Linked DNA regions of Homo sapiens: all the other regions are linked to region 3. The links are contacts of gene promoters, found by promoter capture Hi-C in blood cells and fetal thymus (Javierre and others, 2016). All regions are on one chromosome and are shown on one strand. Each heading gives the region's core, a stretch centred on a gene start or on the middle of the fragment in contact. The rest is flanking DNA. Distances are from core to core; before and after follow the strand shown.

Evidence for each region. The method cuts DNA at HindIII sites, captures the fragments that hold promoters and counts their contacts. A CHiCAGO score of 5 or more calls a contact.
Region 1: a fragment that was not itself captured here is called in contact with the fragment with the promoter of CNTLN in region 3 in 1 of 17 cell types (erythroblasts); the score reaches 5.2 in erythroblasts.
Region 2: a contact is called between a fragment that was not itself captured here and the fragment with the promoter of CNTLN in region 3, in 4 of 17 cell types (erythroblasts, monocytes, megakaryocytes and 1 more). The highest score is 8.2, in erythroblasts.
Region 4: a contact is called between a fragment that was not itself captured here and the fragment with the promoter of CNTLN in region 3, in 1 of 17 cell types (erythroblasts). The highest score is 6.4, in erythroblasts.
Region 5: a fragment that was not itself captured here is called in contact with the fragment with the promoter of CNTLN in region 3 in 3 of 17 cell types (erythroblasts, M2 macrophages and megakaryocytes); the score reaches 8.6 in erythroblasts.

Annotation. Positions count from the first base shown.
Region 1 is chr9:17,298,258-17,303,847 of GRCh38, forward strand. CNTLN (centlein) reads left to right here. Exons shown (of 26, transcript NM_017738.4): 7 at 1-95. Among named protein-coding and RNA genes, the nearest start is that of CNTLN, 170 kb to the left of the region's middle. The HindIII fragment of the contact is 2,216 bases long and covers 2,631-4,846 here.
Region 2 is chr9:17,359,884-17,365,685 of GRCh38, forward strand. The region is part of intron 12 of CNTLN (centlein); the gene reads left to right. Among named protein-coding and RNA genes, the nearest start is that of SH3GL2, 220 kb to the right of the region's middle. The HindIII fragment of the contact is 2,300 bases long and covers 137-2,436 here.
Region 3 is chr9:17,132,718-17,138,603 of GRCh38, forward strand. CNTLN (centlein) reads left to right here and starts at 2,323. Exons shown (of 26, transcript NM_017738.4): 1 at 2,323-2,708. The coding sequence starts at 2,349. RefSeq lists an enhancer at 2,604-3,167. The HindIII fragment of the contact is 13,995 bases long and covers 1-5,312 here.
Region 4 is chr9:17,338,476-17,344,021 of GRCh38, forward strand. CNTLN (centlein) reads left to right here. Exons shown (of 26, transcript NM_017738.4): 11 at 2,352-2,473; 12 at 3,850-3,969. Among named protein-coding and RNA genes, the nearest start is that of CNTLN, 210 kb to the left of the region's middle. The HindIII fragment of the contact is 4,742 bases long and covers 197-4,938 here.
Region 5 is chr9:17,382,704-17,388,521 of GRCh38, forward strand. It overlaps CNTLN (centlein), which reads left to right. Exons shown (of 26, transcript NM_017738.4): 14 at 5,459-5,550. Among named protein-coding and RNA genes, the nearest start is that of SH3GL2, 190 kb to the right of the region's middle. The HindIII fragment of the contact is 925 bases long and covers 2,475-3,399 here.

The DNA of each region.
Region 1 (5,590 bases), core at 2,489-4,988, 170 kb after region 3:
TGATCCAGCAGCTTCAGGTTCTCAATATGGACACACAAAAAGTACTGAGAAATCAGGAAGATGTTCACACAGCTGAAAGTATATCATATCAAAAAGTATGCTTTTATTCTGTAATAAAGATGTAAATGTTTATGTATGAACTTATGAACATATATAGAATTCAGATTTTTTCAAATTTCAGCATTTAATTTTTACTTCCTTTTACATGTGTTTCCTCAAAATTTAGAAGTGAAGGATGGTTCAATTTGATAACATTTAAAATTTTTTGAATTTTCTTTATGGTAATTAGAGCTGAATCACTTAAAATATAGATACAAACTTACTCTATAGGGTATTATTTTTATAAATTGGCATTCAGACAGCTTCTGTGAAACATACTAGGAGTATAGTCTCAAAACTGGAATGGAATTCCTCGGCCTGCTATTACAAGAAATTATTTTGTCAAGTATGGCAGACTTTCATTGTAAAATTTGTACATTATTTTTCGGCAAATCTTCACAAATACAAAGGGGATTGCTGAGGAGGGCTTTAGGATCAATATTTTCCAGGATTTTTCTCTGTTTATTTTGTGTGTTTCTGTTCAGTAGTCTTTTACTTTACAGTTGTTTTAGGAGCCTTTCAAGAAGGTTTACCCAAGTATTTAGGTGTGCTAACTGACTCAGCAGCAATAATTTAATCTACTAATTAAAAAAAATACCTTTATTGGCCGGGCATGGTGGCTCATGCCTGTAATCCCAGCACTTTGGGAGGCTGAGGCGGGCGAATCACAAGGTCAAGAGATCGAGACCATCCTGGCCAACATGATGAAACCCTGTTTCTACTAAAAATACAAAAAGTTAGCTGAGCATGGTGGTTCATGCCTGTAGTCCCAGCTACTTGGGAGGCTGAGGCAGGAGAATCACTTGAACCTGGGAGGCGGAGGTCGCAGTGAGCCAAGATCGCACCATTGCACTCCAGCCAGGCGACAGGGGGAGACAACGTCTCAAAAAAAAAAAAAAAAAAAAAAAAAACCTTTACTGAATTCTTCATATGTTTTGTGTAGTGTGCTAAATTATTTTAATAAATAATGTAGTTTATATAGTGTTATTCTCATTTAATGATAGTAGTTGAGGCAAGTGAGGCTTAGAGAGGTTAAATAATACACAGTTCATATTATCCCTCTAGAATTACTGGATTTTTACTTCTGATCTTACTTTTCTAAAAAATCACTGTGAAAATCGAATGTCTATAATTAACATGAAATTAATTACCTTAAAACTTAAACACATATTTTTAAATGATGCTTTGTAACAGTGGTTTTCAGTGTGTGTTTTGTGTTGCCTTTGTGTTTTCCCAAGGACCTAGATGATAGCAAGCAGGAAGATACAGTCTTCCACTTCAGCTAGAGCAGTGCTGCCTTTTTGTTTTATGGGGTGACATTGCCCACTGTGTTTTTTGTTTCTAAAGCACGTTCCATTGCTAAAATGATTTGAAACACTGTACTTTATTAATACTTGTTAATTGTTATTAATACTAATTAATTGTTTTCTCTTTTTCCCCCATTGATGACTTTCTGTTGCTTGGAACATTTTTTTTCTGTTGCTTGAAACATTTTTTTCCCCTCTTGGCTTCCATTGTACTATAATTGGGTGGCTTTCTTCCTTCAGTTTTTAGCTGTCCCTTTTTAATTTCTTTGTGGTCCTCCCCAGTCTCCATGTCCTGTAAAGTGTGAAAATGTTCCAGGCCTCACTCTTAGGATCTCTCCTTTTTTTTCTGTTTATCCTCACACCCTAGGTGATTTCATCTAATCACCTTGACTTTCAAAGTTACACTGCAGGTTCAATATCCCTTATCTGAAGTGCTTGGAACCTGAAACCTGAAGTGCTTCACATTTTTAGCTTTTGAGATTTTGGAATATTTGCATTACATTTACTGGCTGAGCATCCCAAATCTGAAAAATTGAAATCTGAAATGCTCCAATGAGCATTTCCTTTGAGCATCATACTGGTGCTCAAAAATGTTTTGGATTTTGGAGCATTTCAGATTTTTTGATTTGTATGCTCTACCTGTGTCTATAGGCTGATGATTCCCAAATTTGTAAATTTGTTTATCTACCTTGGATCTCTTCTGTATACTCTAGGAAAGAGTATATCTAATTGCCTACTTAATATCTCTTCACTTGGATTCCTAATGGGCATCTCATACTGAACGTGTTCAAAACAAAGCTATTGCCTTTTATGTTTTCAGTACAGGTGCAGAATTCGACTACTTCCCACCACCCTTGCTGTCACCATTCTGTCCAGGCCACTATCACATATTACCTGGATTATTGCAGTAACTTGCCAGTTTCTTTGTTCTGATCTTAAGCCTTTTGACATAGGTGCCAGGATATTATTGCCAAAACTTTGTGAGTCAAATCAGATCACTGCTCTCTTCAAGTCCCTCCAGTGGTTTCCCAGACCATTAAAAATAAAAAACCTAAGTTCTTACTACAACCTGTGGGACTCTACATGTTCCGACTCTACATTACCTCTCTGATCTCATCTTTGCCTTCTTTTCTTATTCACTCCAGCAACACAAACCATGTTTTTATTCCTTGAACATAACAGGTATTTAACCTTTCAAGGTAATACTTTCTTCCAGTGCCTGAAAGCTTTCCTGCCCAGTTATCTGCATAGATACCATTTTACTTCCTTTATTCTACAACTCTTACAGTTTAAAATTAGTTGATAGCAGACATTAAATGGTAGAAGCAAGAAAAGAATGATGTATGTTGTAATAGTAGTAGAGGGAAATATGGGAGCATAACTGGGGGCCTGTTCCAAGACTAAGGATAAAGAAAGCTCTCCTTGATGGTGTCATACCAGTAATACTTTGCTGAGAAGATAAGATATCAAAGAGACAAATTAATTTCTGATAACTTTTCCAAATGGACTCTAGTTCAAACCAGAAATTCCCTAGTGTATGTCTTTACTAAATTGGGAGAAGTAGAGCTTATATGCCCCTATTTGGCGAACTTGCCGTAACCTAAATTGTGATCTGGGGTACATTTTGAAACCGTAAACACTTTTCTTCTAGGATTATGTTTATCCCTTCCAAGAATCATTATAGAAAATGAGAGATGTAAATGATGGGGTTATGTTGTGTTTGTGAATGATATTGAGGCAGAATAAAAATAAAAGAGAACAAACTGAGATGTGCTAACCTAATAATTGGCTTACTTTTCCTTGTGTTTAGTCTGTTTTTTGTCATTTCTTTCTCTAGATTGAATATCATTTTTCTTTTATTTTTGTTTCTCAGAGATTACCTTGGGGAGTGTGGGAGTAGGGGGCTTCACTGATACTTAAGTTGATTCTCACTTTGAAATTGTACCTCCCACTGTAATATTTTAATTTTGTAGTTGTTTTAGATGCTTGTAGTTGTTCATACAGTTTTCATTAGTATCCTCAACTAGACTCAATTTGAAAATATTCTTCTTATTTATTTATTCTTTATAAATTTTGTCTACAGTTAGTAGACATTACAATTGTTTTGGTGGCTGTATGTAGTTATTTTAAAAAACAAAGTCTTTTATAATTCCATCTCCCAGAGGCAAATACTGTGAACATTTTGAATATTTCACTTTTAAAAATGCATCTTAACATATTTGTTAGCACACTAGTATTTTTCACTTTAACATTATATTTTAAAAAATCATAACATATAACTATTTTAGATGGTCATATAATTTATTTTTCTACTGTTGGTTATATATGTTATTTGTTTTACTATTGTAAATAAAGCTGCAATAAACATTTCTTTGTCAGTTCAGACTATTACTATTCATTATAGTGTACTGACTACACATATGTGTACACACACACACACACACACACACACACACAGACACACACACACTGACCTATCCACCCAGGGAAGACTTCCTTTTATGAAGCTATAACATCATATTAACCATATGCAATTCACTTTTTTTTTTTTTTGACAGTGTCTCACTCTGTTGCCTAGGCTGGAGTGCAGTGGCACGATCTCGACTCACTGCAACCTCTGCCTCCCAGGCTTCAAGCAATTCCCCCACCTTAGCCTCCCCAGTAGCTGGGACTACAGGCACGTGCCACCACACTCAGCTAATTTTTGTACTTTTCGATAGAGACTGAGTTTCACCATGTTGACTAGGCTGGTCTCGAACTCCTTACCTCAGGTGATCCATCCGCTTCAGCCTCCCAAAGTGCTGGGATTATAGGTGTGAGCCACTGTGCCTGGCCCAATTCACTTTTAATTAGTTCGTACATAACATACCCTTTTAAAATTATGCCATAATAAGAATGTACGGGGGTCATGGATTCTAAGGGGACCTGCCTACTACATGATCAGTAAACGTTAAGTTACTGAAACTTGAGACATTGCATGCTATGATGTCCCACTTTGGATAATGCAATTTAAAAATCATAATTGTATTTTAAAACTTTATGGCGATGTTTCTATTTTAATTTAAATATTACTCTAGTCCATTTAATGTTTGACTTTGGGTGGATGAATGGTTCTGCAGTGGTGAAAAATGTGGAGAAACAAAATACAAGTGAGAAGTCCTTCCAGTTAGATCACAGTTATAAAGACAGAATGTAAAATTGTACTATAAGCCAGGGAGAATCTGAGTTTCCATTTACACAAATTATTTTAGAAATGTTTTATGTAAATCGAGATAAAAATGTAAATTGCTCCTAGTAACCATATAATAATAATAGTTAACATTTTTTAGCTTATTGTGTATCAGGCACTGGCGATAGGGCTTTTGCCTGATTGTTTAAGCCTCGCACCAACCTGATGTGGTATTGTTATTTTTATCCCTGTTTGTAGATCAGGTAACTGAAGCTTAGAGTGTTGTCTAAAGTCAAACAGCTACCTGTGTAGAATTCAGATCTAGGTAATCTTGGGTCCAGAATGCAATTCTTAAACTTTATTATAAAGCCAACAGTATAGTTCAGTTTTAAATGGAAAGGTGAGGTCTTATCCCTAAAAGCCTCGGTAAACAGATTCTACAAACTTGCATTATCCATTCTCATCCAAATTTTTTCAACACTTAATAATTTCTAATGTTGGAATATTTATCCTGATATCTAAGTTAAATGTTATTCAGAAGATTTCATTGCTCTCTTTTTGGTGACCAGAGTATAGCAGTTACCTTTCTCTGTGAAAAGGGCTTCCATCATTTTTCTCTGGCCATTGTTTCTCCTGATTGTATCCATTTGGTTTCTTTTATCTTGCTATTACATCACACTTTTTAACTTTTTGAGCTTCTGAAGATTTTTTACTAACGCTTTTTTTTTCTCCTCAAAAATGTAGTAGTTGTGTAGTGCAGGATTTTAAAATTTGTGAATGATCACATTGCCTTATTTGTCAGGTGTGTTATTGTTCATACTTTAGTGTTCATTTATGTCAGATTATTCATTCTTATTCTAGAGCATTATATGTATTGTCTTTATTCCTTGTCTACACATATTTTTAGATTGTTTTCTAATTTGAATAATCTTGCAATAATGAGATGAAATTATTTATTCAAAATTTCAAACATTTTCACATAGATTCATTTTAATATTTTCGAATAATAATTGGG
Region 2 (5,802 bases), core at 37-2,536, 230 kb after region 3:
AGTGAGGCTGTCTCAAAAAAAAAAATAATAATAAAAATAAACAAATGAGAGGACATACGGACATACTAATGGCCAATAAGCACATGAAAAAGTGTTCATCTTGATGTGTCTTATTTTTCTAGATTTTTAAATTGGAAGCTTGCATCATTATGGATATTTCTTTTTTTCCAATTTAAGTATTGTATGTTGCAATATAGATATCCATCTAAGGATTGCTTTTGCTGTGCCTTACAAATTTTGAAGTGTATTTTAAATTTTTCTAAGTTCAAAATAATTCCTAGTTCCTCTTGGATTCTTCTTTGAAAGTAGAACTGTTTAGAAGCATTATAGAAAAATGTTATTCAATGAAACTTGTTAAAGTTTGGTAAAGAAGACTATTTAGGACCATCATCATAGGTAGGGACCACTGCAGTCGGATTTTGCAGTTGGGGAGAAAATTGGACTCAACTCCTAATACAGCATGGGTAAGTGGGAATTTATAGCTAAGGTAGAGGTCAGTGGATTGGAAAATTAGTAAGAGGAAACATCAGTGGGAAGGGAGATTCTGGCTAAACTGACCTTATCAGGATTTTGATTGAAGACAGGCTAGGGTGATCAGATACAGCCTAGGGGGTGGTGGAGGATGAGGAACCCAGTTAGATATTGGCCTTGATTTATATATTGTGGTGGAAGAGATTCTTGCTAAACTGACTTAGTGGAGTTCCTTGCTAAGACTGGATTTTACAAGGAAGTGCACAGATGGGCTTAGGAGAAGGTTCAGGAGAGTTGACTAAAGATTGGTTAAGCAGAACCTCTTTGTCAGAAATAGGTTCTTTAGTTTCAACTATTTTGGGATTTTGCAGACGTCCTTCTGGTATTTATTTTTAATTTTATTATTCTATTGTGGTCATAGAAGATGCTTTGCATGATTTTAAAATGCTTTTAGCTTTACTGAGAATTGTTTTATAGCCCAGCATGTGGTCTTATCTTGTTGAATGTTCCATGGCACTTGAAAAGAATATTTGTTTTGCTGTTGTTGGGTATGGAGTGTTTTATAAAACATTCAGTTAGGTCAAGTTTTTTGATAGTGTTTTTCAAATGTTCTGTATCCTTACTTATTTCTGTCCACTTTTTCCATCAATTACTGGGAGAGGTGTGTTAAAATCTCAGTTTAAATATCTTCAGTTTTTTTTCCATTTTTTTAAATTATTATTATACTTTAAGTTTTAGGGTACATGTGCACAACGTGCAGGTTTGTTACATATGTATACATGTGCCATGTTGGTGTGCTGCACCCATTAACTCCTCATTTAGCATTAGATATATCTCCTAATGCTATCCCTCCCCCGTCTCCCCACCCCACAACAGTCCCCAGTGTGTGATGTTCCCCTTCCTGTGTCCATGTGTTCTCATTGTTCATTTAAAACACTTTTTTAGCACAGGTTTTAGAGTATCATTTACTAGAGGCTTGTTTATCTCTACTCATTAGAATGACCCATCTGTGTTCTCTATTGAATGCCTCTGATGTTCAACTAAGATTCTCTCTTCTCTGACTGGTCGCAACTCAAATGTATCCCAATCCTGTGTGAGAAATATTCTGGGAATATTCTGTTTATAGCTCCTGTTGTTCTTTGCCTGGCCTTGTTGTGTTTCATACTATGCACATGCAAAAAAAGAAATAAAGATTAGCCACATACTCAAAGGAATTCTTATGCAGATTTCTTTAGCTTTTTTCCACTGTAGATTCCTCCTCACTTGGTCATATGCCTCACAAATTCTGGCTGTTTTAGACTTCCTAAACTGCAGTCTCTTGTTTCAACTCAATGAGACTGTCATGTTCTTCTTGGGACCCCTCTCCCTGTCTGGAAAGTGCTTTCAGGCAGAAATCGAGCCATCATTAAGGGCTCTCTCTGTTTATTTGCTTTCTCTCAGGGATTACAGTTCTGTGCTGCCTATTGTCCAGTGGCCGAATACAGTTGTTTCCTATCATTTGTCCAGTAAGAAATAGATTTTAAATTGTGGTCCTCATACCAGAGTATAAGAAACACCAGTGTAAGTGGATAGTAAATCAGAGTCAGTAGCTAGTCAGTGCTCATCCTGGTCAGGAGTACCAGGGCTCTGCCTCTGTCAGCTCCTCCCTCAAACACACAGTAAGATATGGTTTGTTGGTGCTTAGTTTGACTCAAGAACAAGGTGGTCCCTGATGTCTGTAAATATTTATTAAAAGTAGGGACTGTGTGTGTTCTTTCCAAAAGAAACAAGCTGTAAGTATAAAGTATGTTTTAAGAAGCAAGAAATAACTTTTCCAACAACTGCAGCCCTACCTTCTGTTGGGTTAGTGATCTGAGAGCCAAGGAAAACTAAGTTGAGGTAAGTTACACCTGCTTTTTCTTTGTGGGGCCATCTTGCTTCAGTATGTTCCACGTTCTTAAATAAACAAATCAGGAACCTAATCCAAGCTTAATCATTGTGTGGTTGAGTGTATGTGTGTGCATGTGTATGTGTTCCTCCTATCAATCTGTAATGGACCTGGGAAGCTGCCAGTATATATCATGGGATCCCAGTTTTTAAAATCCTTATGTGTGTGAATTGATGTTTATAATATATGAACAAAAAATGAGAGTATACATATCAAAGTGTAAACATTATTTTTTTTCCAGGAAGTATACTGAGTGAGGGGAAGGAGAGGCTACCTAATTTTTACTTCAAATAACTTTTTATTGTTTGAATAATTATAACAATAATTACAACAACTTGTGTTGTTGAGTACATAAAAGTCTAGAACTAATGTATTTTCCTGGTAAATCATTTTTGATCATTGTGTGATGACTATCTTTATTTTTAATTTTTTTCTTGCACGTTTTATTTTCTTATGCTCCTTTTTTTAAAATTATACTTTAAGTTCTGGGATACATGTGCAGAGTATGCAGGTTTATTACATAGGTATACACGTGCCATGGTGGTTTGCTGCACCCATCAACCCATCATCTACATTAAGTATTTCTCCTAATGCTATCCCTCCCCTAGTCCCCCATACCCCAACAGGCCCCAGTGTGTGATGTTTCCCTCTCTGTGTCCATGTGTTCTCATTGTCCAACTCCCACTTATGAGTGAGAAAATGCGGTATTTGGTTTTCTGTTTTGTTAGTTTGCTGAGAATGATGGTTTCCAGCTTCATCCATGTCCCTGCAAAGGACATGAAGTCATCCTTTTTTATGGCTGCATAGTATTCCATGGTGTATATGTGCCACATGTTCTTTATCCAGTCTATCATTGATGGGCATTTGGGTTGGTTCCAAGCCTTTGCTATTGTGAACAAACATACAAGTGCGTGTGCCTTTATAGTAGGATGATTTATAATCCTCTGGGTATACCCAGTAATGGGATTGCTGGGTCAAATAGTATTTCTGGTTCTAGATCCTTGAGAAATCGCCACACTGTCTTCCACAATGGTTGAACTAATTTACATTTCCACCAGCAGTGTAAGAGCATTCCTGTTTCTCCACATCCTCTCCAGCATCTCTTGTTTCCCGACTTTTTAATGATCACCATTCTAACTGGCGTGAGATGGTATCTCATTGTAGTTTTGACTTATGCTCCTTTTTAAAAATGACTTTCTTGCCTTTGATTTGATACAGTTTTTTTTTTCATTTCTCTTCTGACCTCTAATTTTTATTTTTTATATTTATTTTTTATTCTTTAAATAATTATTCTTGAAATTATAACATACATCATTTATTTGACAAAGTCTAAAGTTCATCACTAGCTGTATCCTCCTACAATACAAGGACCTTGAAATGTTTAACTATGGTATCTTTGATGATCCAATATCGTTTTGTTGTTGAGAATGTTAGTTCTACCTTATTTTAGCTCATTCAGATATTGCTATGATTGCTTTAGATAATAAATGTTTATTTAATTCCTTGTATATATCTGTTAGTGTCTTTCTTCATCACTGCTTATTTTGTTTTATACCTTGCTTTTGAGTACATTTTCTTCTTAAAATATATATTTTAATGATTTTTTCATCTAGGATCTATGAGTAGTAAACTTTGGCATGTGAAAGATATTAATTATTTTCCTTCTGGCTTTGTTTGTTGATATGAGAACTCTGCTGTTATTCCAGAGATCTTTAGTTGTTAGAAGTGTTTTCTTCTCAATCTGGTTCATTTAAAGATTGTCTCTATCTTTGTTGTCCTGAAGTTTCACTAAGACATTTTTAAGTGTGAACAGAGTTTTATTTACTCTTCTTGCAATTTTTTGATACTCTTTAAGGCTATTAATTCATATCTTCATCAGTTCTCAAATCCTGAGCTATTAATATTTTGACTGTTATCTCCCATCTGTACTCCTGCCTTCAGTCTTTCAATTCTCTCCTTGAATAATTTCTATTAAATGCTTTCTATACTTCTTATTGCAACATGTTTTGTATACCTCTACTGTTTTCCTTCCTTTACCTCCTTCTGCTCTCTTCCATTTTATCAATTTCCATTAGCTTTTTCTACTTGCTATTGAACCCATCCATTGAGTTTTAAATTTCTGGTATTATGTTATTATTATTAATTTTCATTGCTTTATTTCATATTTTTAGATATATTATTTGATTATTTTTGTCTATTTTCTGTTTCATAAACCCCTGTTCTTTTTTAATATATGTTTATCACTTCTTTATCTTTTTAAAAACATTTTAAAAACTCTAATGGTGAAAGTAATTTTGATTATTCTCTTATCTCTATTTTATTGTTTTACATTATCCCATTTTGGGCAGTGGGATATTTAGACTGTCATTCATGGCTTTGAACTTATTTATATACTTATTGTCTCCATGCTTGACTCGAGAATTATTTTCTGTGGTGGCTTTTCTCCCATACATTTTCTTAGTTGTGGAAGCCTCCCTTTAGGGATGATTGTGTCTTCCTGAACCCTCCAGTATACTCTGGCCATATGTCCAGTTTTTGTATTATTTTTGATTGTTCATGTTTCTGTAAATTGTATGGCTCAGTTTTGAACCTATTGATTTAGGCTTGGGATTCTGATATCATGTGGTTGACTCTGTCCTGTCCCCATCCTAGGGCTGGAGAACTATTTTAGTGAAACTCTAACCAGATAAGTTCAGATATTCAGGTTTTCATTCAGCAGATTGTTTTCTCCCAGTTTCCTGTCGTTAGCTCATTTTTATCTGTCAACCAGGTAGGGCCATGGGTCTAAATGTCCATCTGATATGGTTTGGATTTGTGTCCCTGCCCAAATTTCATGTCGCATTGTAATCCCCAGTGGTGAAGGAGGGGTCTGGTGAGAGGTGACTTGATCATGTGGGCGGACTTCCCCCTTGCTGTTCCATTGATAGTGAGTTCTCATAAGATCCGGTTGTTTAAAAGTGTGTAGCACCTCCCTCTGTGCTCTTTTCCTCCTGTTCCAGCCATGTAAGACCTGCCTGCTTCCTGTTCCCCTTCTGCCATGAATGTTAAGTTTCATGAGGCCTCCTCAGCCATGCTTCCTGTACAGTCTGTGGAACTGTGAGTCAATTGAACCTCTTTTCTTTATAAATTACGTAGTCTCAGGAGGTTTTTTTTATAGCAAAGTGAGAATAGACTAATACACCATCCCTACTCAGGTCTCACATTCTGAGGTCCCCATGGGCAGTATTTGGTTCTGGTCAAATACTCACAATGGTAGCTCAATTCTGTTTTACTGGAAAGTCTTTTTGCCTTTATTTGGCATCTAGGAATTTACCATTCTTGTTTTCAGTGTTATGTATTAACATTTTTCATTACTATTTTGCCTAGAATATCTCTGTGTTAGGATGTGGTTGAGCATGGCGGGT
Region 3 (5,886 bases), core at 1,073-3,572:
ACATAAAGGGAATTAATGGTTGCTTGGGGCTCGGGGGCAGTGAGAATGTGGAGAGACTAATGTGGGTATGTGGTTTCCGCCTCCGGTGATGAAAATATTCTGGAACCAGATAGTGGTGGTGGTTGCCTAACATGGTGAATGTAGTTAATGCTGCTGAATTGTTTTTTATTTGTAGCCATTTTATTTATTTATTTATTTTTTGAGACAGTCTTGCTTTATCACCCAGGCTGGAGTGCAGTGGTATGATCTTGGCTGTTTGCAACCTCTGCCTCCCGTGTTCCAATGATTCTCCTGCCGTGGCCTCTCTAGTAGCTGGGATTACGGGAATGCACCACCACTCCCAGCTAATTTTTGTATTTTTAGCAGAGACGGGGTTTCACTATGTTGTCCAGGCTGGTCTCGAACTCCTGGTCTCAAGTGATCCACCAGCCTCGGCCTCCCAAAGTGCTGGGATTGCAGTCGTGAGCTACCACGCCTGGCCTATTTGTAGCCATTTAAAATGCCTACGATGGTAAATTTTATGTTGTGTATTTTGTGTATTTTGCTCCAATAAAGACAAAATTTAAAAAAATGCCTAGTCAAAGAGTCAGGATATTATCCTTTTGGGAGGTCACATATACATATTTATACCACTGCTTTTCAAAAGGATCTTTTTATGATCAGGTGAAATGATGTCCTTTTGAGTGAATGACATACAGCAATTAAAAATGTGCATTAATACTGATTTGGGGCCAAACACGTAACTTATGTGGTTAGACTTCCCAGTCTTAAGTCTAGTGAAATCTCACAGACTATCAAGACCAAATGTTGTATTTCAAGTCACAGGTGTGGAGACAGGGTAGCGATCAAAGTACAGGTTTTCAGAGTTAAGTGGAATTCAGTGAATTCAAAGCCTAGCTTTTCTGATACCAGACATGGCACTTCAGAGAAGTTACAGTAACCTTGCAAGTCTGTTTCCTCACTAGTAAAAATGGAGATATATAATAATCTAATTGAAGGTGACATATGTATTAAGTGAGTTCATATATGAAAAGTGCTTAGCACTGGACTCAGCATATGGTAAATGTTCAGTAGGTTAGCTAGTTCTAAGACAGGCTTATAAACATACTTTTTCTAATGTACTCTTTAATAAGTTTTTGTGAGGAATTCACCTTCAGTTTGAAAGAAGTCCACTTATCTTGGTTGCCTTGGCAGGATTCTAATTGGGAGGGTGTCTTTTGGCATCCTGACTAGATTCTCATGCAGAGATGGTGATATTTTGGTTAAATGAAGTTAACAGTAAAGTGGTCATCTCTCTACTTCTGCTCTCAACCCCCATCTCAGCTTTCCCCAAGTATTCTGGAACCCTTTCTGAAGAAGAGGGCAGTTCTAACTTTCAGGGATGTTCTGGTGCCAGCTCAATATGCATCTCATTAATCTTATCAATAGTAACAAAGTATTTGAAGGGCAAAGAAAGATACGATTACTACCTATTTGAAGTTTATAAAGAAAGCCAGAAGAAAAAGAAAAAAAAGAGAACAAAAGATAAAGTAGGTCTTGTTTCTTCATCCACGCTCCAAATTACTGATTTCAAACTGCTCCAAGGACCCAAACTGTTCAGCAATGTGGGCTACACTTCCTCTGATATCCAGCCAACGCATAAAGAAGCTGACATAAAAACTCAAAGGAAATCATGACTCCTGCAAAACAAAAGACAAAGGGTGTACAAAGGATCATCATTCAAGTTGGAAACCTGCTTGATAGTCCCAGATCAGCACAAGGCTTTCCACATCTCCTTGACATTAGTCAGCTGGATGTCAGCTGTACTAAAGCAGTTTTGCCAAGGGGTGTGAAGAAAACACTTAAGTGTAAAACGTATTCCTTGATCCTCAAGGAGCTTACAACAGGGCTGGGGAGATTAGCCGTGTAACTGACACTCCAGGGCGGTCAATGAAACGTGTCACACGAGTTGGCAGGGGCCTTGAAGGAGAGGGATTTCACAGTTAAGGATCATTTGGGGCTGGGGGCTTGTCAAGGAAGGCTTTAAGAGGTGGGATGTAAGTGGCAGGCAGGGCTTTAGGTGGGCGGGAAATCCAGGCGATCCTGGCCAAGGACTCAGGCACAGGACGCTGGGATGGCCTGCCCGGCGGACCGGCCTTACCCTTTCGGGCCACGGCGCGTGCGTACCCCAAGGCTCGCGCTGGGCGCATTGCCCGCGGGAAGCCGGCCAGGACCAGAGAACACGGGACACCGCGGGCCAAGGCGGGAAAAGCCTCGCGCATGCGCGGTTCGGCGTTCCGGGCTCGCCGGGTTGGGGAAAGGGAGGTGGAGTTTCCAACAGGGAACTTGACCCGTTAGCAGCCGCAGCCATGGCGGCGCGTTCGCCTCCCTCACCGCACCCTTCGCCCCCAGCGCGACAGCTGGGCCCCAGGTCCCCACGTGTTGGGCGGGGAGCTGAAGTACACGCAATGCGCAGCGAGGCCTCGGGTTTTGCCGGCGCAGCGCGGGAGGTGGTCGCGGACGAAAGTGATAAAATCTGGGTGGGTGAAGAAGGGTCAGGGGGCCGGCGAGGGCCTGGGGGGGCAGCTCCGGCTCATGCTCCCCTCCTCAGCGCGCCCATGGGGTCCAGACGGCTAGAGGGCATCTCGGTAGAGGAGGCGATGGTGACCCGGACGCAGCTGCTGGAGGAAGAGCTGAGCAGCCTAAAGGAGGAGTTGGCCCTGTGTCAGGTATCGAGGAGTCTCGCAGTCCCCCTTTCCCCACCACAGCGGGGCCGGGACCCGTGGGGAGGCGCGCCTTTCTCCCTCTGCCTTGGGACCTACCCCGCCCAGCGACGCTCCCTGGCAGATGCACACCCTGCTTCGCTCGCGGCCGGGGGCTGGAGGGACGCGGCTGCGCCCGGCTCCCCAAACCCGGGCCCCTGCCCCTTTCCGAACTGCGGCCAGACAGGCTTCGCCTCCGCGCCCGGGTTTGGTTTTGGTCACTTGGATACTCGCAGTCGCATCCTCTCCGCTTCCCCCCCAAGCCCAAGTTCTTGGTGGTGACGGTAGCTGATACCTGCCGGGGGCCCAGGAGTGACATGCAGTCCACTAGTTGAAATGAACAGGAAAGTGTAAACACTTCGGTTAGAGTAAAATCCATCGATGAAGGAGCCTGTTTTTAAAATTTCAAACCCACACTTGGCTTTGTTTTTACCCAGTCAAACTTAAGTTGTAAACACAGACGAGTAACGTTTAGAAAGTCTCAGAGCCGGGAACTTAACAATAGATGATGCTTGGTACTTGTTTATTAACCAGCTATGGTAATTCCGCGGTCCTTGAGTGAGAAATCACATTTTCATGTGATCTTGCCAGTGAAAAACATTTGCTAAATCAATTGCATTAAAATTACTTTCCTGTTTGTAGAGTTTTTGTAAGGATGGACTTGACTATACTCATGTTCAAAGAGATTGAATTTTCCTTTAGTTTTGCATCCTTACCATCATCTCTTTTGATTTTACCAGAACCTTTAGATAGGGTTGGGAGATTGGATGTGGGAAACTCACTGAACAGTAGATCTTTAAGTCACTCTGTCTTCAACTTAGAAACCAATTAGGAGCTGCTGAACATCAAAGTAACTTTGTGAACAGTATCATCAGTTTAATAAAACAGTTCATGAAATTCATTCTCTGTCGCCCAGGCTGGAGTGCAGTGGTGCAGTCTCAGCTCACTGCAAGCTCCGCCTCCCGGGTTCACGCCATTCTCCAGCCTCAGCCTCCCGAATAGCTGGGACTACAGGTGTCCGCCACCACGCCTGGCTAATTTTTTGTATTTTTAGTAGAGATGGGGTTTCACCGTGTTAGCCAGGACAGTCTCGATCTCCTGACCTCGTGGTCCGCCAGCCTTGGCCTTCCAAAGTGCTGGGATTACAGAAATTCATTCTCTCATAGTTTGTTCTGTTGGATTCTTTTGCCCATTTTATAGGTCCTTGCTGACTGAGTGAAGGGTGTAAAAATGGGACCATCTTCAAATTGAATGTGCCTTTGGTTAAACAAGGTTGGGACATTTAATATGGTGCCCTCTTTTCGTTTTACCATTTTTCTGTTCTTCGTTGGATAAGGAGCAAAGGGATAAATAAATGACAACAATGAATTGAAGCATTTGTCATCTGCAGACCTCACCCTTTGGGGAGTTTTAAGATGTGAACCCATGATAAAGGCCTTTGATACTCTGAGTCCTAATCTAAGACACTCTTTGGCATATTTTCCGCACTCTTTCCTCCCACTTCTGCCTCCCCACATAGTTAGGCCTTTAGCTGGCTAAAGAGCTAAGATACTTTTTTATGACCGACTTGGTTAAGGAAGTCAGTCTATTGGAAACAGCCTGATGAACCTCTTCCCACAAATACTTACATTCTTTAAAAATGTGGCTCCAAACATGGTGTTGGCTTTTGTGACCTCGGACATATATAGACTAGGAAAATGATTGACATACTCTTGGCAAATGTAAGAATACAGAGATGGTCATAATAGTCTAGAATGATGATCTCTTAGATTTTGTAATATTAATACTCTTATATAATTGTAGGCAGTATCCCGCACCATAAAAATCTTAGTCAAATCAGACTCCTGCTCTTCGGGAATCTTGGGGAAAAATAGTAATTGAACTCCCAATTGTTTTGTAAAAAGCATTTAGGTGATTAAATATTCACTTTTATATCTTTTAAAGTATACTCTCCCGCTTATTTATTCAGCTAGAGATCACAGTACCCAAGAATACATAGCATTAAAACTGCTGAAAATTACAACTCGAAGTAAAATTTTGTATCTCAATCTAGTAAGTACACACATATACAAACATATATTTTCAGAAAGAATACATGCCCTAATACTGTGTGGGCTGATATTTTTTCAGTTCTATTCCTTTAAAAAATGCTGTCCAGATCTAAATTAATTTCAGAACCCAACAAGGCTTGAAACATACAGTTTAGGAAAAAGAACACTGCTAATTAGTCCATGGTCATAAGTAGTAGCTTCATTTAATTTGTTTTGCTTTCACATTCAACTTATGGGAATTCAGTGATGTGTGCTTGGTGAAGTTTGAGTAATTCCCCATACCATTCTACATCATTGGAATGCCTCAGAATAAGCATGTAATAGAAAGCAATCAAATGTTTCTCTTAATATCAGCATCTCATCCCACTCTAAGTGATTGTATTATCTAATTAAACTTTAAAAAAATATGGCCCCCTGATTAGCAACTGAACTATAAATAATGCTTATATGAAGAAAAAGTGATTAATTTCAATGAGGGAAGAAAAGCTATCTGTATTGGACTTACTGAGGGTAGTAGGTAAGCTTCCAAATGTAGCTTTTTCCTAAGGAATTTTTCAAGGGTGTTCCAAAGGGTAATTTTGCATCCATGGCATTTAATGCCCTATTTCACTAATTTAGAACCTAACTCCACTACACTTTTAATTTTGATTATATATTTCAAGAATGTGTTCTGTTTGTGATAAAGGATGCTGGGGCATGTGTATTTGTACATTTATCACCATTTATAGAGTGAGATGAGAAAAAAGTGTTATGTTTACATAGAAAGAGTAATATGTTTATATAGCATTTATAAAGCTTATTTTTTGGTATCAGGCAAAAATATTGACTAAACCTATAAGCCAGTTTTAGGAAAAAAATTAGGGTATTTAAATGAAATATGAAATTAGTTTCATCATTAAAGCTCATCCACTTTAATGATGAAACCAACTTTTGAAGCAGGCGATGTTGGAATTGTATGTGATCAGAGAAGTCAGCCAGTTATATTTTATGTTAGAAATTTAGATGTGTTAAAACTTCATTTATTCACAAAGAAAAACAAATTTGAGAACTTACTGTGTAATTCCACCAGTTGTTTGTAGCTGTATTCTACTTGG
Region 4 (5,546 bases), core at 1,318-3,817, 210 kb after region 3:
TAATTTCTTATAATTAAATTATTAATAAATTTCTAATATGTCTTGCTGAAATCACTAATATTGTTTTCTAGTTTTTAAGCAATCTCAATAAACATAATTAACTCATGTTCATATATGAGAAGGTACCAACATTATTAATTTTTAATCTCTTGTTTTGCTAACTTAAATTATTTATTTCACATACTTAACAATAGAAAGCTTTTTGTTCAAAGACATTAAGTAGTATTTGGATTGTTAACCAAATTAATATGAAAAACTCAAGTTCAAGACTAAATTATTCTCTATGTCTTAGAAGAAGAGATATAAATAGCTTCTATTTTGAAGATGGATAACCTGAGTTAACTGAATTTAAGTAACTAGATCAAAGTAAAATTTAGTTAACTTTGAGCAGCTAGATTTGAACTCTTATCAACACAGCATCCTACGTGTAATAGACTCTTCATGTATGGTTCTTAAATTGAAATGAACAAAATTGAACTCAGTAACCTGAGGTTTTTACTTTTACTTCATATATTAAACTATCCTACTTTAGCAAATTTGCATTATGTGTGATTTGTATATCTTCTAAAACTACTTAGGAAACATTTATTTTGAATGCCTTTGTCAACTGAATCCATTCTGCTTTTTCATCAAGCACTTTCATTTCTGTACGGCATATAGAACACTTCTTGTTACAAACAAGACTCAAATACTTCTTAATAACTACTTAAGAGAACTATCCTAGTAGAAATATAGTGAAAGTAGAATGACAGACTACCCATACTGCTAAGACAGCTAGAATTGCAGTAAAATAATGCAGACTCTATAAAGTATTATCTCACTGTTTAGATGAGAGGTCAAGAAACAGTTACTTGGTTTCTAAAAGATAAGGGCATCACTGTTAACATGTGGGAAAAGGAGACTGAAAGAAGCTAACTTTTGCTTTGTGTCCTTAAAAGGGCTGGGGCCCCACCACCTAGGTTAACTTATTTCATCAAAATTTAAACCTCTTTTTTCTCTTCCATATTTTGCAGGAAAAAACTTGAATTAATTTCAATGGTGTTCTTAAGATAATGCCACTAACAGGAGCAAGCTCCAAGAATGGAATTCAGATCTTTCTGATTACCATATGCCTACTCATATCACCTCACTATAATATTAGAGAGTATCTGTTGCCTCCACCACATAAGTATACAAGTTCATTCATACAGAAATATGAATAACAGTTATTAAAATATTTGAAATTCTCATGAGGGAAGAAACTGGAGAAGTTACTTATTTTACTTTGAGAAACACAGTTTATAGTCATGTGCATATATCTTCTGAGGACTAAGAATTTCGTCTTTATAAATTCATTTTATATATATCTAAAAATGAAAATTGATCTCATGTGCTATATATTGGAAGTAGTTGACTGTGCCACACACGGTGGCTTATGCCTGTAATTCCAGCATTTTGGGAGGCTGAGGCAGGAGGATCATTTGATACCAGGAGTTCGAGACCAGCCTTGGCAACAGAGTGAGACCCTGTTTCTACAAAAATAAAATAAAAAATTGGCTGGGTGTGATACTGTATGCCTGTAGTCCTAGCTACTTGGGAGGCTGACATGGGAAGATTGCCTGAGCCCAGGAGTTTGAGACTGCAGTGAGCTTTGAACTCCAGCCTGGGCCACAGAGGGAAGCCCTGTTTCCAGAAAAATAAAAATAAATAAAAAAGAAGTAGTTGACTATAATTGTCTAACCTAGGTATTGACACAACAAAGCAATGTTTGGATGGCTTGTTTTATAACCTCTTTAAGAGTTGTAAGCCTAGCTTTCCCATTCCAGTTCTTCATGGTACAACCCCAGAAGGTTAAACTATGCTCCTTCTAACATAGGGTCCAATCTCATTTTCTTCCTTATGTGTAATCCTTGTGCCTTAGTAAATATTAGTTATGAATTCATGTGCTAAATAATTGTTCTTACTCTGATTAATGTTCTTATACTAATTATATTTGCACTTTAATAAAATAATCATGGTTTATGTATAGATAAAACCTTATGCTGAAAAAGAAAATAATTAAAAACATGTAAGATAGGTTTATGAATGTATACTAATTAACAACAGGGAAAGGAGTGAAACTATCTTAATGGTAAAATTTTGAAATTATGTGAGCAGCTTAAAAAATGCATTGACTGAGTTGAATTTATCAAGCAAATGTATTCTGTGACTAGAGAAATTCTTTTTTCTGCTTAAATACATATTACAGATTCATTTATGTTTACACACTATTTTCTTTCAAATTTCATATTTAGATGGGTAACCTTTTATTTGAAACATTATATTAATACTTTCTTCAAACTTATATATACTTGCTTTTTTGTGTTCTACAGAGCCAAGAAAATGATGAGCTAAGAGATGCCCATGAAAAACGCAAGGAACGGCTACAGATGTTACAGACCAACTACAGAGCAGTAAAAGAGCAATTAAAACAGTGGGAAGAAGGCAGTGGCATGTGAGTTACATAGCTCATAAAGGCATTTCCCTAAATATTAAATGGAATGGAGTAGCATTATATAGGTGTCTTAATGGCTTTTGTTTGGTTTTAAAGAAATTATTTGGTAGTCAAATCTTTATTGTGAATTTTTAAATGGAGAATATAACAAATTAAAACAGAGGAATGTGTTGGTAATAACTATAGATTTTCCTCACATTTGCAGATATCATTAGCAGTCAATGATTATGAATTATTGTACACATTTTTAATATCAATGGAATAACTTAATAAAATTATGTAATTTAAAGCAAAAATGGTTAATATCCGTGTGATTGAAAAACTTGCTTTTAAATAAATAAAATACTGGTGTTAAAATGTTTATAACTCCAAAAGTATTTAAATTTTAGTGGAAAGACTAGAGAAATATGAAATTCACATATATAGTTAACTATCTTAAAACTACTTCAACCTAGTATGCAATTTGAAGATCTTTACTATCCATCAGTTTGTTCTCCAGCTTATGTGAATGAATTGGCGGTCTCAGTTCAATTGCTCTGAACAGGTGTTCAGATCTTGGTTAGTCGTAAGTGGCTCCCCTGTTAACTGTATCAACAGAGGGCAAAGGACTGAATGAGTACAGAAAATCTACTACCTTCTCATCTTTTGAGATGGATCCTTTAGGGCAATGTTGATGATACACATTGGTCTGTTCTGTAGAGAAATACTGTTTCTAAATTGGCCAGTACGGCACTTTTACAAAATAAAAATGAAGAATTTGTTTTATGTTCAGAAAATGAAAATGTAAAGGGCATTTGGCATCACTTGTAGATAATTGTCACATCTAATTTTTTTCTTTGATGAGTGGAAGTGTTTTGTATCACTTGTCAGTAAAGCAGTGATAAAGCAGTTTGTCCTAGATTTATCCTCTGTTCACCCAGCTTAACTAATCATTAGAAGAGTGAAATCTACTTTCTGACATATTCACTGGTAATAGTTTTTTTAAAAGATAAAGGCATCTGTACCACATTCATCTTGGTTAGCAGCAAATTCCAGATGAGTTGGTTGCATATAGATTTTTTTGTATGCGGGGGGGACCGTTAAAATTCTACAGTGTCTGTTTTCATTACTACTAGACTGAATGGGAGCAATAGACCTTAGAATATCATGTGTCTGCTTAAAAGTTTGCTTTCCACAGTAGCAGTTTAGCTTCAAAAAATTATGATAGAGGGTTTTGATTTCTACATGCTTAGGTTTTAGGAAATTCATTCAATAAATGGTGAACTCGAGTTAGAAATTTGGTCAATAGATATTTTTAAATTTTAAGGAATGTATAAAATAATTTTTATTGCACTTCAGACATGTTAATTGAAAAAGCAACTTTGTTTTAAAAATAGGACTGAAATCAGGAAAATAAAGAGAGCAGATCCCCAACAACTTCGACAAGAAGATTCTGACGCTGTGTGGAATGAACTGGCATATTTCAAAAGGGAAAACCAGGAGCTAATGATTCAAAAGTGAGTTTCATTTTTAACAATATGGACTTAGATAAAATACTTGGGAGAAATTTTTTCATGGCTTAAAAGCTATTAAAGAAACACTTTATAAAATTTGAAATAATCTGATTTTTGCCAATAAAAGTAAAGAAAAAAAGACTAGCTTTTAAAAATATATATATGTATTATGCAATAACAAGTTGCACAGTTGCTAGCTCTAACAGAAACTGGATAATATGATCTAGGGATTGTGTTAATTAGTGTGGCTCTCATCTGTTGGAGGTGTCGCTCTTCATTAGCCTGTATTTTAGACGCTGCCGTGCTTCATTTTTGGAATGAGGTGGAGAGGGGATAACCTAGCCAGCCATCCTTGTTTGATCTCCTAGATACATACGCAATGCAGAATGCCTGAGCTCTCTTGGTTCCCTGCCCTGTCCTGCTAATCCCAGCTGAGCTCATTATGGTGTAGCCTTGCTGCTACTCTTGGAGCTGGAGCTGTCCAAGCTAATTACTGGTAGCAGCAGAACTGCCTGTTAAGGGTCTGGTGTGGATCTGCTAACATGGTCCTTGGTAGTGACCTGCAGAAGACACAAGGGAATTGCCTTCTTTCTTGCTGTGCCCTGCCTGTCCTTTGGGCTTACTGCTGATTTTTCCACATAGGTGTTTTAGCTGCCCTAAGTATAAAACTTGATGAAGGATACTCATATTTTAGAAAACATACAGTTGGTCGCTTGATCTTATAATTCACAGGCTATTATATTCAGCCTGGCAAAGAAAGAACATTTATTTATTTAATTTTAAGACTAAAAGGAGTTAGACCAATATAATTAACCTCTTCTGCTACTTAACTATTTCTTCATTTAGAGTTAATGCCTGACACTCAAGCATACAGTTTTTTAAAGCCTAGATGTCTTTCAGATTGCTAGAATATAGCCTCATTATGGTGTAATGTAATTAAATGTCACTGAATTTTCTTAGCTGTAAATGAGAAGCTTATTTTATATACTACATGATAACATGTATAACTTTTGTTTACAGCCTTTTCCATGTAATGATAAACTTTTGAGGAAATGACTAGACCATATGAGATTTAAATGTTGTATGCTCCCATTTACCACTTAAAGTGCAGTATACTCTATTAGTTCTAAATATTTGATGCTATAATGAAGGCTCTTATCTTGAAAACTATTTTATAGACTCATAGATTTGTCTCAGAGGCATTTCCTAATAATTTCAGTAGCTTTATTGAAATATAACTCACAAGTCATACAATTCACTTATATAACGTATATAATTCACTGGTATATTCAGAGCTGCACCGTCCATTATCACAATCTATTTTAGATTTACAGTTTTATCACCCCCCGCTACTCTCCCCACCAAAGCCCATATGACTTTGTTGTCACTCCCCAGCCCTCCCATCCATCCTGCCCAGCCCTAGGAAACTACTAATCTTCTTCCTGTGTTTACAGATTTGCCTATTCTAGACATTGCATATAAATGGCATCATTTAGTACGTGGTCCTAGACTATCTTCTTTCACTTAGCATAACGTTTTCAAGGTTCATCCATGTTGTAAATGTATCAATGCTTTTATCT
Region 5 (5,818 bases), core at 1,687-4,186, 250 kb after region 3:
CTACTTACAATTGCTATCCAATCTAGCATAAGGGCATTCCTTCCAGCCCTATTCTTGGTGTGTTAATATTTCTGATCTTATTCTCTTATTTAGTGACTTCTGCTAATAGCAAAATAAAGCCCAAATTCATTTATCCCACTGAAAATTAGCCCCTGCCTACCTCATTAGCCTTATCTTTCATATGTTTAGCATTATTTTTTCCTCCCTGGAACTGAAAAATCAGCAAAATAAAACCCCAAAAGTGCTTTAGCGTTTAACCTCTGGACCAGTGTACACAGTACTATATTCCTTTCTTGCAGGTTCCATGTAGAAAAGACCTCCTCATCTTTAACAATAGAACTGAGGTGTGACCTCCTATCTAAAGCCTTTTTCTGTTCTCTTTGTTTGTACCCTCAACATATATAAATATATAAAATATTATATAAAACATATGCATTGTACGTATATGTATATACACACACAAATATATCTATATAAATGATTTATACACAGATTTTGGTTGCTTCTGTTATGCTTAAAGTCATGCTTCTTTGTAGTTGTTACCAACATGGCGCTGTGGCTCACACTGTAATCCCAAGATTTTGAGAGGCTGAGGCAGGTGAATCGTTTGAATCCAGGAATTTGAGACCAGCCTGGGCAACCCTGTCTCTACCAAAAAAAAAAAGTTGGGTGTGGTGGCACACACTTGTACTACCAGCTACTTGGGTCGCTGAGGCTGGAGGATCACTTGAGCTCTGGAGGCGGAGGTTACAGTGAGCTGAGATCACGCCACTGCATTCCAGCCTGGGTGATACAGCAGGACCCTGTCTTAAAAAAAAATGGGAATTTTAAAATTAAAAAAATTATTTTTAAAACAAGCCAAAGGAGTATTAGGAATATAGAGAAATATTAAAGTAAATTGAAACAAAAGTTAATTGCAAGAAGTAATTCGTAACATGAATTTTTTTTTTTTGAGATGGAGCCTTGTTCTGTCACCCAGGCTGGAGTGCAGTGGCGTGATCTCGGCCCACTGCAAGCTCTGCCTCCTGGGTTCACGCCATTCTCCTGTCTCAGCCTCCCGAGTAGCTGGGACTACAGGCGCCTGCCACCATGCCCGACTAATTTTTTTGTATTTTTAGTAGAGATGGGGTTTCACCGTGTTAGCCAGGATGGTCTCGATCTCCTGACCTCGTGATCTGCCTGTCTCGGCCTCCCAAAGTACTGAGATTACAGGCGTGAGCCACCTTGCCCGGCCCGTAACATGAAATTTATATGAAATCAGAAACACAGTTACAATGTTAAACTTCACAAAGCTAATTCATTTAAATATAAAGATCGAAATTAAAATATAATGAAGCACTTGGAAGTAGAAAATAAACAGTCTAAAATATTTTAAAAGTGTGGGCTTAAGGAATAGCATAAAATAAAAAGAGGGTGTTACACATGGCTTTCAAGCTAGCTAGAGGAATTAAAGATAGCATGTTCAAATTCCCCTGATTCATCCAGCGAGCTAATAGGATCGAGTTCATCAAGTCCCCAGCTTAAAGACATTTTATTTTTAAGGCAAGGAAGCCTATTTATTGGGTGTAATTTACAATAAATAAAATGAAAAAAAAAAAACTACTTATCCTTCTGTTTTCCTACCTCTCGTCCTAGAAAAAGATACTTACATCGTCCTGGTAACTTCCTTTTTAGAATATTTGTGGCTGGTAACAAAAATGGGCTAATTGTCTTTGAATTTTCACTGATTGAATAGATTCTTCCCAGGCCTCCTGCCCAGGTAAACTCAAAGGGGATGGTCTGGGTCTCCAGAAAGAGGTGCCAAGTGTAACAGTCATATCAAGTGATTGAAATTCTCTCCTACTCATCAGAAACAGGATTTATTTCTTGCCATTTCATTCATCAGAAATGGGACTTCAGTTTTCATTGGCTTATGGTTACTTCTCGGAGGAGATGGGTTCTAATTATAGTTGGCTGATCTGACTTTATTTTGCCTAAGACAACAATTTTAAATTAACACAAAAACCAAAAACTTTTTCATGGCAGTTCTTGCTGATTATTGCCTATTTATCCCCAATTCACTTATCTGAAACAGTGTTCAGAGTTATTTTTACTCACAATACTTCTGACACCAATTTTATAGGTTTTTTTCTTCCACCCAACAACTAACTCATTGCTTCTCTAAACTCCAATTGGGCAATTCAGTTCAATTCTAGCTACTTAGAATTAGTGCAGACCCTACAGATTAAGGACTGTGTCCCACAGGACTGCCTCCATTTTAGATCCCAGTCACAAGTCCCAGGTTTCCACCTGTATTTCTGACCAACTGAGTTTAAATTGGGGGTTCCCAGGAGCCCTTCCTCAGATTAGTTAATTTGCTAGAATGGCTCAAAAAAGTTTTCCATTTACTATTGCTTGTTTATTATAAAGGATACAACTCAGGAACAGCCAAATAGAAGAGTTGCATAGTTCATGGTATGGAGGAAGGAAAAGGAAGCTTTTGTGTCCTTTCTGAGCATGCCACCTTCAGCACCTCAATGTGTTCACCAACTTGGAATTTCTCCAAACTCCACAGAGTTTGTTATGGAGCTTCCATTAAGTAGCCATCATTGATTCAATCATTGGCCATTGGTGACTGAATTCAGTCTCCATTTCCTCTCCCCTCTGCAGAGGCCTGGTGGTGGGGCTGGACGTTAAAACCATCTAATCACATGGTTGCCTCCTCTTGCAGCCAGTCCTCATCTTGAACCTATCTAGGGGCTCACCAGGAATCATCTTATTAAGCATAAACTCTGGTATGGTTGAAAGGAGCTTGTTATGCTTTGCTTGTAATAACAAAAGATGGTCCTATTACTCAAGAAATTCCAAAGGTTTTAGAAACTATGTTTCAGGAACTGGGGACAAAATCCAAATACAGTGGACCCTCTGTATCCACGGGTTCCACATCCCTGGATTCAACCAACTGCAGATCAAAAATATTTGAAAAAAAATTGTATCTGTATTGAACATGTATAGACTTTTTATCTTGTTATTCCCTAAACAATGTAGTATAACAATATTTACATAGCATTTACATTGTATTAGTTATTATAAGTAATATAGAGATTATTTAAACTATACAGGAGGATGTGCATAGGTTATTTGCAAATGCTACATCAGGGACTTGAGCATGGTTGGATTTAGGTATCCCAGGAAGGTCCCTGGAACAGGAACGACTGTATGTGTTTCTTATTGTATCACAAGTACCTTCTGAAGTAAAACCTACCCACTATGATTCTCATTTTCTTTTCCTAAAAGTGAAATAAAAATAGCAATATTCTTTAGGAAATTGCCCATACAATAAGTTGATAACTGTTTTCCTTTCTTAATCCCTCAAATTGATATAATCACAAACTGACCTTTAAGAAACTTTTTGTATGAAGCTTCATATTAAGATCAGGGAAAAAACAATGATAATAGATTTTTCAAATCATTTGTTAAATTAATTAAAAAAAAGAATCTAAAAGAATACAAAGTAAAAGATTGCAGAAAACTTTATATTAATTATTTAAGCCAAGAGGATTAAAAGAAAAAATATAGAAAATAGAATATACTAAGCTCTTAAATAACTATGAATAAGCAAAATTAAAGGTTAATGAGAAAAAGAAAAAATGGAGAGAAGAAACTCCTGAGAAAGAATATAAATTAGAATGAATGTTTATACTAGTAAAAGTAAAGCATTTAAAACTAAAATATCAAAAATAAATCTCCAGTAAAGTGAAGCATATGCTCACATCTACCATAGGAAAGAAATAGGAGTGTGTATTTCTAACTAGGTCTTGTTGGTTTATTTCCCAAATCCTGGGATCCTTGAAGAGAAAGAGAATCAAGGGCCAGAAAATTGGATCCTTGTTTCTTTCCATGGCATGAGCTTATCTTCTTGAGCGTTCTGTATAAACCGGTGAAGGGGAGAAACAAACGTCAGCAGATAAGTACAGGTGAACATGGTTAGCCAATCTACCAGTGGACCTCACACACATCCAGGAGCAAACAAGCAGCACACAAATTCATTTTTAAATCAGTCTTCACCATTTACTTTATTGGAAGTATTTAGCTATTGTTGGCATCCCATGCTCTTTGAATATAGAACTATTATTTTTAAGATGAAATATTTCACTCAGAAGTATAACAGATATTTAAATGACTAGAAAGGATGAATTGTATTTGCATATTATTTCTATACTGCTGAAAGATTGCTGTAAATGAATTCAGCACCATGGTGTTAGGGGACTAGAAGAAGAAACTTGGGAACTGATAGATTATTATCAAGGTAAAGGTACTTATTCCCCAGGTGGCAAATTCTACCTATCCTAGCTTTTATTATCCTTCGGATACTGTTCTAATTATTTCATAAGTACAGAAGTTTTAATTGGGTATGTCATTTTTCAAAGACAAAAGAAATGCCTAATTCACTCTAACAAACTTGTTAGTCACTGTTTATACCAGGAGGATTTCTACTCTACAGAGAATAATATTGTTTTCTTTTTCCTTTGTTGAGAAATCAAAGTTTTACACTGACCTACAGCAGCCAAGCATACTTTAAAGCAAAATAATCTCAGGCTAACACAGATATATATCCTTTTAGTTTTATATATTCTTTTTTGTCCCCTTTTTATTCCTTAAGAAATGTTATATTCCAGAATTAATTCACTAAGAAAATGTTAGTAAAATTTGTCATAGTAATTTATCTGATAAGAAAAAAGTTATTTATAGGATTTGATATATTTTGATTTTAGTATTAACTGAAGTTTTATGACTTTGTTTTTTCTTTAAGGTTGTTAAGTTACTTGTAGGTTTTGGCTTGGTTGAAAAGGTTTTGGCAGTCAAATGTATAGCTAGTGTAGGAATGATTTGTAGCTATAACCTCACCCATATACCTAGCTTTCTATTTGTTATGAAGTCACAGTATTTCTAGAAGAGTGATTTGTATGGTTTACCTCACCCAGTGCATGATCCTTCACTTGAAAAAAAGGTTGTGGTAGGGGTTGTTACAATTTCAATCCACCCTAATTCTGTTACTGTTTGCTTTGTTCAGCAATCACTGTGATCCTCCTGGCAGGGAACAAGATCCAGAGAACAAAACTAGTAGTGACTGTGTAGATAAAAAGGTAATGAATTCTGCTTTTAAGGCAAAGGGGGAATAGTCTACAAAAGAATGAAAATAGGAATAAAAGTGTAGCATTGTTAACCTGAAGATCTATTGTACTTTTGAAAAATCTTATACTGAAAAAAAAAAAAAAAGGTGGCACTACAAAGATACATAATTATGTTGCTAAAAATCTTGAAAAGGGTCATTGTTTAGTTACTGGCCAAATACTTGACAAGAAAATAGCCTAGATTATTCACAGTTGAAAAACCATAGAACCCTTTTTCTTAAAATGACAGGACAGTATTTCAGCAGTACACGTGGTATCATAATATATTATTTATTCTCTACCAGAACAGCTCTTTAGATCTGGTGAAGATGATGAGGTCAAGAGGAGTACTCCAGAGAAGAATGGAAAAGAAATGTTGGAGCAGACATTACAGAAGGTAGTCTAATCTTTAAGATATTGAGCTGAGCAAGTTAAATCTGAATTTTAACATAAAGGATTATATTTTAAAACGAGGGCTTGTAAATGTAAACCTTGTGTGAATCCTTAATTTAAATTCATAATTCAAAATCATTGGCTTGCCAAAATGGGGTAAAAAAAATCAATGTTAGTGAAATAAATGTGTAAACACTTGTGCTTCCATTGATGTAGATTAACATTATTTTCAAAAGGTGAAATGGAGAGAATGAGAAAAATAGAAATTACAG